2 separate regions of the Homo sapiens genome follow, and region 1 is linked to region 2. The links are contacts of gene promoters, found by promoter capture Hi-C in blood cells and fetal thymus (Javierre and others, 2016). All regions are on one chromosome and are shown on one strand. The core of a region is centred on a gene start or on the middle of the fragment in contact, and the rest is flanking DNA. Distances in the headings are between cores, read along the strand shown.

Region 1 (5,573 bases), core at 2,745-5,244, 200 kb before region 2:
ATTCTGAGTATCAGGTTCTTCTGGACAATAAGAATAATGGCTCCTGCCATATCCCATTACTGTATGGAAGGAGGTAATGTATATAAAGCAGTCAGCACAGTGGAGTGCTCAGTAAGTTAGCTGCTCTGTCATTATCATCATCCTCCTCACAGCACTGCTTGTTCTTTCAGCTATAATGGTTGGATTGTGGATGGCTGTTTTATTTTCTATTTTTTTTGAGATGGAGTCTCACTCTGTCTGTCACCCAGGCTGGAGTGCAGTGGCATGATCTCGGCTCACTGCAATCTCTGCATCCTGGGTTCAAACTATTCTCCCATCTCAGCCTCCTGAATAGCTGGGATTATAGGCGCCCACTACCACGCCCAGCTAATTTTTGTATTTTTAGTAGAGACGGGGTTTCACCATGTGGGCCAGGCTGGTCTCAAACTCCTGACCTCAGGTGATCCACCCACCTCGGCCTCTCAAAGTGCTGGGATTACAGACGTGAGCCACTGTACCCAGCCAGCTTTTTTAAATATTAACATCAAACAAGTATCTTGAAAACTGAAAGAGACATAATCTTTTATTTTCATAACTTGCTGTGGCCCCAAAATGAAGCACACAATGACTAACTAAAGAACTAAAGATAGTGATGTTGAGTGGACAAAAAGCTTTCCAAGGTCTCTCTCTGGAGCAGAGTAAGTGGCCAGTGCATGTCAAGAGAGGAAGAAAAAAACAAGTGCCATGAGTGAACCTTTTAACATGTCACTTCTTTTCCCTGTCAGGGGGTGTCTTCCAACCTTTTCTTTGTAGAACACAACTTTCCTGAACAGGAAATCCAAGAGGGCAAAAGCCATCAGAACCAGCATGAGGCTCACTTTGTGGTAGAGCTGTGCAAGTACTTCCTGTGCCAGGAATACCTGCCTTCCCAGATCACCATCCTCACTACCTATACCGGGCAGCTCTTCTGCCTGCGCAAACTGATGCCTGCCAAGACATTTGCTGGCGTCAGGGTCCATGTTGTGGACAAATACCAAGGGGAAGAGAATGACATCATCCTCCTCTCGCTAGTGCGGAGCAACCAAGAAGGCAAGGTGGGTTTTCTGCAGATATCCAACCGCATCTGTGTGGCCTTGTCCCGAGCCAAGAAGGGAATGTACTGCATCGGAAACATGCAGATGCTGGCCAAGGTGCCCCTGTGGAGCAAGATCATTCATACACTTCGAGAGAACAATCAAATAGGCCCCATGCTCCGGCTCTGCTGCCAGAACCACCCTGAAACCCACACCTTAGTATCCAAAGCTTCTGACTTCCAAAAAGTACCCGAAGGAGGCTGCAGCCTGCCCTGCGAGTTCCGCCTGGGCTGTGGGCATGTCTGCACCCGTGCCTGCCACCCTTATGACTCTTCACACAAGGAGTTCCAATGCATGAAGCCATGCCAGAAGGTCATCTGTCAGGAAGGGCACCGGTGTCCCCTTGTTTGCTTCCAGGAGTGTCAGCCTTGTCAGGTGAAGGTGCCCAAAACCATTCCTCGGTGCGGCCATGAACAAATGGTCCCTTGTTCCGTGCCTGAGTCAGATTTCTGCTGCCAGGAGCCTTGCTCCAAGTCTCTGAGATGTGGGCACAGATGCAGCCACCCATGTGGTGAGGACTGTGTGCAGCTGTGTTCAGAAATGGTCACCATAAAACTCAAGTGTGGGCACAGTCAACCGGTAAAATGTGGTCATGTGGAAGGCCTCCTGTATGGTGGTCTGCTAGTCAAGTGTACCACAAAGTGTGGCACTATCTTGGACTGCGGGCATCCTTGCCCAGGCTCCTGCCACAGCTGCTTCGAAGGGCGTTTCCATGAACGCTGTCAGCAGCCCTGCAAGCGCCTGCTTATCTGCTCACACAAGTGCCAGGAACCATGCATTGGTGAGTGCCCACCCTGCCAGCGGACCTGTCAGAACCGCTGTGTCCACAGCCAGTGCAAGAAGAAATGTGGGGAGCTGTGTAGTCCCTGCGTGGAACCCTGTGTCTGGCGCTGCCAGCACTACCAGTGCACCAAACTCTGCTCTGAGCCCTGCAACCGACCCCCATGCTATGTGCCTTGTACTAAGCTGCTAGTTTGTGGCCACCCCTGCATTGGTCTCTGTGGGGAGCCATGCCCCAAGAAATGCCGGATCTGCCACATGGATGAGGTCACCCAAATATTCTTTGGCTTTGAGGATGAGCCTGATGCCCGCTTTGTGCAGCTGGAAGACTGCAGCCACATCTTTGAGGTGCAAGCCCTAGACCGCTACATGAATGAACAGAAGGATGATGAAGTCGCCATCAGATTGAAAGTCTGCCCTATCTGCCAGGTGCCCATCCGCAAAAACCTGAGGTATGGAACTAGCATAAAACAGCGGCTAGAAGAGATTGAAATCATCAAGGAAAAGATCCAGGGCTCAGCAGGGGAAATAGCAACCAGCCAGGAACGGCTTAAGGCCCTGCTGGAGAGGAAGAGCCTCCTCCACCAGCTGCTTCCTGAAGACTTCCTGATGTTAAAGGAGAAGCTGGCCCAGAAAAATCTGTCAGTGAAGGACCTGGGTCTGGTTGAGAATTACATCAGCTTCTATGACCACCTGGCCAGCCTGTGGGATTCCCTGAAAAAGATGCATGTCTTAGAAGAGAAAAGAGTGAGGACTCGACTAGAACAGGTCCATGAGTGGCTGGCCAAGAAGCGCTTGAGCTTCACTAGCCAGGAACTAAGTGACCTCCGAAGTGAAATCCAGAGGCTCACATACCTGGTGAACCTTCTGACCCGCTACAAGATAGCAGAGAAGAAGGTGAAAGATAGCATAGCAGTAGAGGTCTATAGTGTCCAGAATATCCTTGAGAAAACATGTAAGTTCACCCAAGAGGATGAACAACTTGTGCAGGAAAAGATGGAAGCTCTGAAAGCCACCCTTCCCTGCTCTGGCCTGGGCATCTCAGAGGAAGAGCGAGTGCAGATTGTCAGTGCCATAGGTTATCCTCGTGGTCACTGGTTCAAGTGCCGCAATGGCCATATCTATGTGATTGGCGATTGTGGGGGAGCCATGGAGAGGGGCACGTGTCCTGACTGTAAGGAAGTGATTGGTGGCACAAATCATACTCTGGAAAGAAGCAACCAGCTTGCTTCTGAAATGGATGGAGCCCAGCATGCTGCCTGGTCTGACACGGCCAACAACCTGATGAACTTTGAGGAGATCCAGGGGATGATGTAGGAAGATGGTACACCACTGCCTTTTGCCCTCGCCACTGAATGACTGGGGCCAGCTCCCTAATGAAGGAACTGAAGTTTGTTTTTTATTATCATCCTTTTTAGGCTGGGCGCAGTGGCTTACGCCTGTAATCCCAGCACTTTGGGAGGCCGAGGCAGGCGGATCACGAGGTCAGGAGTTCGAGACCAGCCTGACCAACATGGCGAAACCCCGTCTCTACTAAAAATACAAAAATTAGCTGGGCGTTATGGCGGGCGCCTGTAATCCCAGCTACTTGGGAGGCTGAGGCAGAAGAATCGCTTAAACCCAGGAGGCGGAGGTTGCAGTGAGCTGAGATCATGCCATTGCACTCCAGTCTGGGCGACAGGAGCAAGACTCTGTCTCAAAAAAAAAAAAATCATTCTTTTTAGTCTTAGCACCTACTTAAGGATCCACTTTTAGGGCTCACCCACATTTGTTTCTAGATTTACCCCTGCGCTAGAGTAAGCACTTTATCTCCAGAACTGAGAGCAAAGTTAACAAATCTCACCCCTTCTCTCCTGCAAATTAGTGGACAGACTCCCTGGAACATGTTTGGGGCTTCCACCTAGGGCCACCTAGTGGTATCTCTGGGTCTTTACTTGGTCAGATGTTTATTCTACATTGTTCCCCAGGAACAGAGTATGAGCTCATTGATGCAGACCGATTCTAATTGCCAGGCCCTAATTTGCAGACTAACTCTCATAATAAACAGAGGCCCATAGTTGTTTATGAACTGCTTATCCCTTAAAGGAGCACAAGAACCCCTCCCTGCCCTCCTTGGGCACCCTGCCTCCAGGAGATGGAGGCACGTGATAAGACAAAAGACTGCACCAACTCACCCTGACACAGTTACATAGTCACTGAGAGTGGGGAAGATGGGACAGCCCACATGCTGCATAAGATGGGCCTTATGCAGCAGGCCCAGGTCGTCATTAAGGAGTGACCCCTTTCCTGTAACCTGCACTTTGGGATGGTAGAAGTTTCTTTACCTGCTGACAGGTTTGGTGGCACTGCTGGTTACCCCTGGGCCCTGAATGGAGCTAAAATCACATTTGGTACCAGCAGCACCTATCCCAAGTGTGATCCTTCATCCCAACACTCCCTCTTGGAGCTGTTCCCTGGGTAGAGCTAGCATGCCAGCAGCTTCTGCAGGCTCCAAACCCAGGCCAGAAGCCAGACCCAGGCCTGCTGCCTGCATCTGCATTCCCTCCTTCCAGTGTTCCTTAGAACAGACATTTAGGTATCTCAGGTCCTTTCTAAGTGTCCCTTTCCTATGTATGCATTTCCTTTTTTTGTCTTTACTATGCACTTTAGCTTATAAAGCCAATTAAAAACAATGATTGAGAAAATCAGTGGTCCACGTGTATCCTCAATTTTCAGAAGCAACTCAGCCAAAGACAGTGAAGACGGGCACAGGGAAGGCACTGTCTACAGTGAGGCTGTGATTTTGTTTTTGTGATACAGGATTTTTATTTAGCTGGTGAATGAATCATTTTTACCCACGGTAAAAAGAACATTTTTTCAGCCTGTACAAAAGGGTATACCTGAAGTTTCTTTCTCCAGAGGCAAACCCTGTTAACTTCCTGAGTCCTCCCAGAGAGAACTTATGCACATGCAATACACATCCCTTAGGCCAGGCATGGTGGCTCACATCTGTAATCCCAGCACTTTGGGAGGCCACATTGGGCAGATGGCCTGAGCCCAGGAGTTCAAGACCAGCCTGGGCAACAGGGCGAAACCATCTCCACAAAAAAAAAAATACAAAAATAAGCCAGGTGTTGTTGCTTGCACTTGTAGTCCTAGCTACTCCAAAGGCTGAGGTAGGAGGATCACCTGAGCCTGGGGAGGTCGAGGTTGCAGTGAGCAGTGAAGCCACTGCACTCCAGCCTGGGCAAGAGTGAGACCCTGCTTCAAAAAAAGGAAAAGGAAAAGAAAAAGTACACAGTTCTGCACTTGGCTTTTTTAGCCTAATAACCTACTTTCTGTAAAATCCAGTAAGACAGTAGTCTGAACTGTACTCCATCACACAGTTGTGCCATCATTTTCTGAATTGGACCCTCTGTTGGTGACTTAGGTGCAGCCTGAATGAATAGCTTTGAACACACTCTTTAGTATCTAGGGTATGTGCTACTGGATAACTTATAATTTTTAAGCTGGGGGTAGGGTGGTAAGTACTCCCTGAAATTATAACAAACTATACAGTTTTCCAGGTGGGGCCCCACAGCTTTCATCTCATTCTGAGTCAGAAAAGGATGAGAACCGACGTTCTTACAGGATCAAAACTGGTTTTTGGCCAGGTACAGTGGTTCAAGCCTGTAATCCCAGCACTTTGGGAGGCTGAGGTGG
Region 2 (4,820 bases), core at 389-2,888:
GGTCCTTGCTCTCAAACAGCTTACATTCTAGCAGTTGAGAAAGATAACAAGTAAGCAATAAGTAAGTGTTAGTAAATGCTATGAAGTAACTAAAACCAGGTGATGTTGATGGAGAGCCATGGGAGAAAGGTCCTAGACAGGTTGATTAGACAGCCTGATCAACATGGTGAAACCCCGTCTCTAATAAAAATACAAAAATTAGCCGGGTGTGGTGGCGTGTAGTCTCAGACCTGTAGTCTCAGCTATTCGGGAGGCTGAGGCAGGAGAATCGCTTGAATCCGGGAGGCGGAGGTTGCAGTGAGTCGAGATCGCGCCACTGCACTCCAGCCTGGGAGGCAGAGCGAGACTCTCTCTCTCAAAAAAAAAAAAAAAAAAAAAAAAAAAAGAAAAGAGAAAAGAAAAAGAAAAAGAAAACAAAAGAAGAGGTTGGTTAGGGGAGGCCTAAGGTGAGGGAAACTTGGGAGAGGCGGCCTGCCTTGCAAAAATGTTGGTACTTCCCCAGCAAACAAAAGGCATGTGCAAATAATTTTAAATCGGAATAACCCTGGAATATGGAAGAAACAGAAAGCCACACTGGCTAAGGAGAAAGATGGGTGGGAGAGATGAATAAACAACCGTCAGCTCCCAGGGAACCTTTGTAAACCACGGTAAATAACTCAGCGCATCCTCAAAGCCACTTTCCGAGGTAGATTCTGTTATTAACCCCATTTTGCAGCTAAGGAAATGGAGGCTCAGTGAGATGAGGTGACCAGCCTCAAGTTACACCCCTAACGAGAGGCTACGTCTGGAATGAACCCAGGCGATCTAATTCCAAAGTCTATGCTCCGAACCACCACAGCACAGCGTTTCTCCCAAAACGAGGGAACCCTCCCCCAACCCGCGTTACAGGGGATTTCTATGTCCCGGGTGTACCGACTAGAATTCTCACAAACAATTCAGCAAAGTGAGATCACGATGCCCGTTTTACAGTCAGGGATACAAGTACAGAGGTTAGAGAAGGGTGAGTTCGGGGGCTTCACTAGAGTTAGGGCAAGGGACGACGCGAGGCAGCCGCAGCTCCACGCGCCCGCAGTCCCCGCCCGGGCAGGCCTCGCCGCCGCACACTCAGCTCGCGCGGCTAGCAGCCACCGTCGCAGAGAATGGACATGCGAGCGCGACCAATAAGGAGCGGCCTTCCCGAGCGGAGAGGCGGCGGCGCAGCCAATCAGCGCCGTGATGGAGAGGAAAGGGCGGGCAATCCGCAGGCTCGCGTTAGGCCGCGCCTCAGTTGCCCTCAGCCCTCACAGGCCCTGGGGTCGCCGCACCTGGGCCAGAGACCTAGGATGCCGCGAGGCGCGGCAAGCGCTCCCTAGGGAAGCCGAAGACCTTGCCTGAGCGCACCACCCGAACCCCGGGCCCACATTCCGCTCTCGCCCAGAGGCGCGGTTCTCACTCCCTAGCGCTCGTTAGTACCGGGAGCGCCTCATCCCTTCCTCAGCTGGGCCCCAAGAGCCACTCTGGTAGGCCGTGCACGCCCCGCGCCTCACCTCGTGGGGATACAGAAACGGAGGAGGGAACCCCAGCCGCGGACCGTAGCTGGCACTACCCGCTCCTGCCGCCGCTCCGCCTCACATTCAAACCCCGGCAAAATGGCGCGACAGCGAGCCTGAGGCCAGAGCGCATGAGCGAGCGGCCCGCTGCAGGGGGCGGGGCCAGGAATGCTCTGGCCCCACCCAAGTTCGAAGGGCCAATCGGGGCCCCGCTCTGTTTCTGCGCTGATCTCACAAGTGACAATGCTCTTTGGCTCTGACCATGCCAGCAGGCTTCACGGTTCTCGTTTTCCAAAGAGGAACACAGATTCAGCGAGCGGCTGCTGGCTTCTGACCCATTTTGATGTCAGGGCTTGGCACGTAGGAGGTGTTCAATGTTGATCGATCCAAGGTCGTGCACATAGGGTCTAAGACGGAAGAGAACTTCCTGCCCCTCTTGGAGCTTCTATTTTAGAGGGAGACACGGCCAGACAGGTCTCGAACTCCTGGCCTCAAGTGATCCGCACACCTTGGCCTCCCAAAATGCTGGGATTCCAGGCGTGAGCCACCGCGCCTGGCCTGGTATGTAAGTTTTGGTACTCTTATTACAGCCCACAAACCATATGGGATCTGGCCCCTGCCAGCCTGCCTGCCCTCATCACCTTCCGCTTCCCTCCTCTCCTCACCCTCACTCAGCTCCGCCACCCCACCTTCTTCCTGTTCCTCTAAGCTCCAAGCTTATTTCCACTTTAGAGCATTTATACTTGCTGTTCCCTGTGCTGGGATGTTCTAGATTCCTGAATGATTGGCTCCTTCTTTACATTTAGGTTCCAGCTCAAATGTCACCTCCACAAAAGAGGCCTATCTGAAATTGCCCACTCACCACCACCCAGCACACAAATTAGGGTTGCCAGGTTTAGCAAATAAAATGCAGGCTGCCCAGGTCAATGTAAATTTTAGAAAAAAATTTATAATTTTCTAGTATAAATACTGTGTAGGACATATTTATACTTAAAAATCATGCATTGCTTATCTGAAATTCACATTGAACTGGGTGCCCAGTGTTTGATCTGGTAAGCCTAGTTCCATGATATCATTATGGTATTTATCACTCTCCAACTAATTGTCTCTTCTTTATTTTGTTCCTCCTTCCGCTTCTCCCCTCCTAAACCCCTGCCCTCCTCCCCATCCATAACCTAAGGGATTCTATACAGCAAGGGCTTTTCTTTTTTTTTTTTTTTTTTAAAGACAGAGTCTTGCTCTGTCGCCCAGGCTGGAGGGCTGGAGTGCAGTGGTGCTGTCACAGCTCACTGCAACCTCTGCCTCCCAGGTTCAAGCAATTTTCCTGACTCAGCCCCCCAAGTTACTGGGACTACAGGTGCCCGCCACCATGCCCCGCTGATTTTTGTATTTTTAGTAGACACGGGGTTTCACCATATTGGCCAGGCTGATCTTGAACTCCTGACCTTGTGATCCGCCAGCCTTGGCCTCCCAAAGTGCTGGGATTACAGGCATGAGCCACCACGCCTGGCCAGGGCTTTTTTTTTTTTTTTTTTTTTCTTTTAAGAGGCAGGGTCTTGCTCTGTCACCCAGGCTGCAGTGCAATGGCACAATCATAGCTCATTGCAACCTCGACCTCCTAGGCTAAAGCAATCCTCCCACCTCAGCCTCCTGAGTAGCTAGGACTACAGGCACCTGCCACCACACCTGGCTAATTTTGAATTTTTTTGTAGAGATGAGCTCTCACTATGTTGCCCAGGCAAACTCCTGGCCTCAAGTGATCCTCCCACCTCCGCCTCCTAAAGCACTGGGATAGGGCTGGGCATGGTGGCTCACGCCGGTAATCCCAGTGATTTGGGAGACCGAGGCAGGCAGATCACCTGAGATTGGGAGTTTGAGACCTGACCAACATGGAGAAACCCCGTCTCTACTAAAAATACAAAATTAGCCGGGTGTGGTGGCGCACGTCTGCAATCCCAGCTACTTGGGAGGCTGAGGCAGGAGAGTCGTTTGAACCCGGGAGGCAGAGGTTGCGGTGAGCTGAGATCTTGCCATTGCACTCCAGCCTGGGCAACAAGAGCGAAACTCCATCTCAAAAAAAAAAAAAGCCCCGGGATTACAGGTGTGAGCCACCACATCTAGCCCCATATTGATGGTATTCACAGCTGTACCCCCAGCACTAGGCACACAGTAGCTGCTTAATAAATGTTTGTTGCATGTTGAATGAAATGCCATATATAAATAAGTGAAGTCCATGGAGAAAGATACATGAGTGAAAGACATTGGTGAGGCCGGGCACGGTGGCTCATGCCTGTAATCCCAGCACTTTGGAAGGCTGAGGCAGGCGGATCATGAGGTCAGGAGATCGAGACCATCCTGGCCAACATGGTAAAACCCTGTCTCTACAAAAATACAAAAATTAGCCAGATGTGGTGGCATGCGCCTGTAGTCCCAGCTACTCAGGAGGCTGAGGCAGGAGAATCGCTTGAACCTGGGAGGCAGAGGCTGCAGTGAGCCGAGATCGAGCCACTGCACTCCAGCCTGGGTGACAGCGAGACTGTGTCTTAAAAAAATAAATAAATAAATAAAATAAAAATAAAAATAAACCATGATGGTCAGAAGACGGTGGAACATTTTAAAAAAAAACAAAGACATTGGTGAAAAAGATGTATTTTTACTATTGCAGCAATAGTACCAGTAATCACCAGTAATCATTTTAATCGTTCTAATCTGCATTTTTTTTTTTTTTTGAGACGGAGTCTCACACTGTTGCCCAAGCTGGAGTGCAGTGGTGCGATCTCGGCTCACTGCAAACTCCACCTCCTGGGTTCACGCCATTTTCCTGCCTCAGCCTCCCGAGCAGCTGGGACTACAGGCGCCCGCCACCATGCCCAGCTAATTTTTTGTATTCTTAGTAGAGACAGGGTTTCACCGTGTTAGCCAGGATGGTCTTGATCTCCTGACCTCATGATCCGCCCGCCTCGGCCTCCCAAAGTGCTGGGATTACAAGCGTGAGCCACCACACCCGGCCCACTAATCTACTTTAATATAATTAACATGTTCCTCTAGTCCTAGGGAGAATGAGCCTGATGACTTTACCATTTTCCACCTCTAAGAGCCAATCGCAAAGGAGGCTGGCTGGCATCTTGTGTCTGTCTAGCATCTCTACCAGTTTCTGTAGAAAACCCTCAAGCTGTGCCAAGACGATCATGTCTGGACACAGCTCTTGGTGTCACGGGGTGTCTCCTCCTACTGCCTATCGCCCTTTGCAGCCACCAGAATAATCATGCAGGTGAGAGCCACAGAAAGGCT

What was found. Contacts are between HindIII fragments. The CHiCAGO score rates a contact against its expected background, and 5 or more counts as called.
Region 1: a fragment that was not itself captured here is called in contact with the fragment with the promoter of CSE1L in region 2 in 1 of 17 cell types (activated CD4 T cells); the score reaches 5.4 in activated CD4 T cells.

The regions. Positions count from the first base shown.
Region 1 is chr20:49,244,903-49,250,475 of GRCh38, reverse strand. It overlaps ZNFX1 (zinc finger NFX1-type containing 1), which reads left to right. Exons shown (of 14, transcript NM_021035.3): 14 at 765-4,576. The coding sequence ends at 3,209. Among named protein-coding and RNA genes, the nearest start is that of DDX27, 28 kb to the right of the region's middle. The HindIII fragment of the contact is 5,422 bases long and covers 1,284-5,573 here.
Region 2 is chr20:49,043,130-49,047,949 of GRCh38, reverse strand. It overlaps CSE1L (chromosome segregation 1 like), which reads right to left and starts at 1,638. Exons shown (of 25, transcript NM_001316.4): 1 at 1,527-1,638. It overlaps CSE1L-DT (CSE1L divergent transcript), which reads left to right and starts at 1,894. Exons shown (of 2, transcript NR_110625.1): 1 at 1,894-2,090. RefSeq lists enhancers at 640-1,280, 1,246-1,315, 1,866-2,015. The HindIII fragment of the contact is 3,278 bases long and covers 1-2,247 here.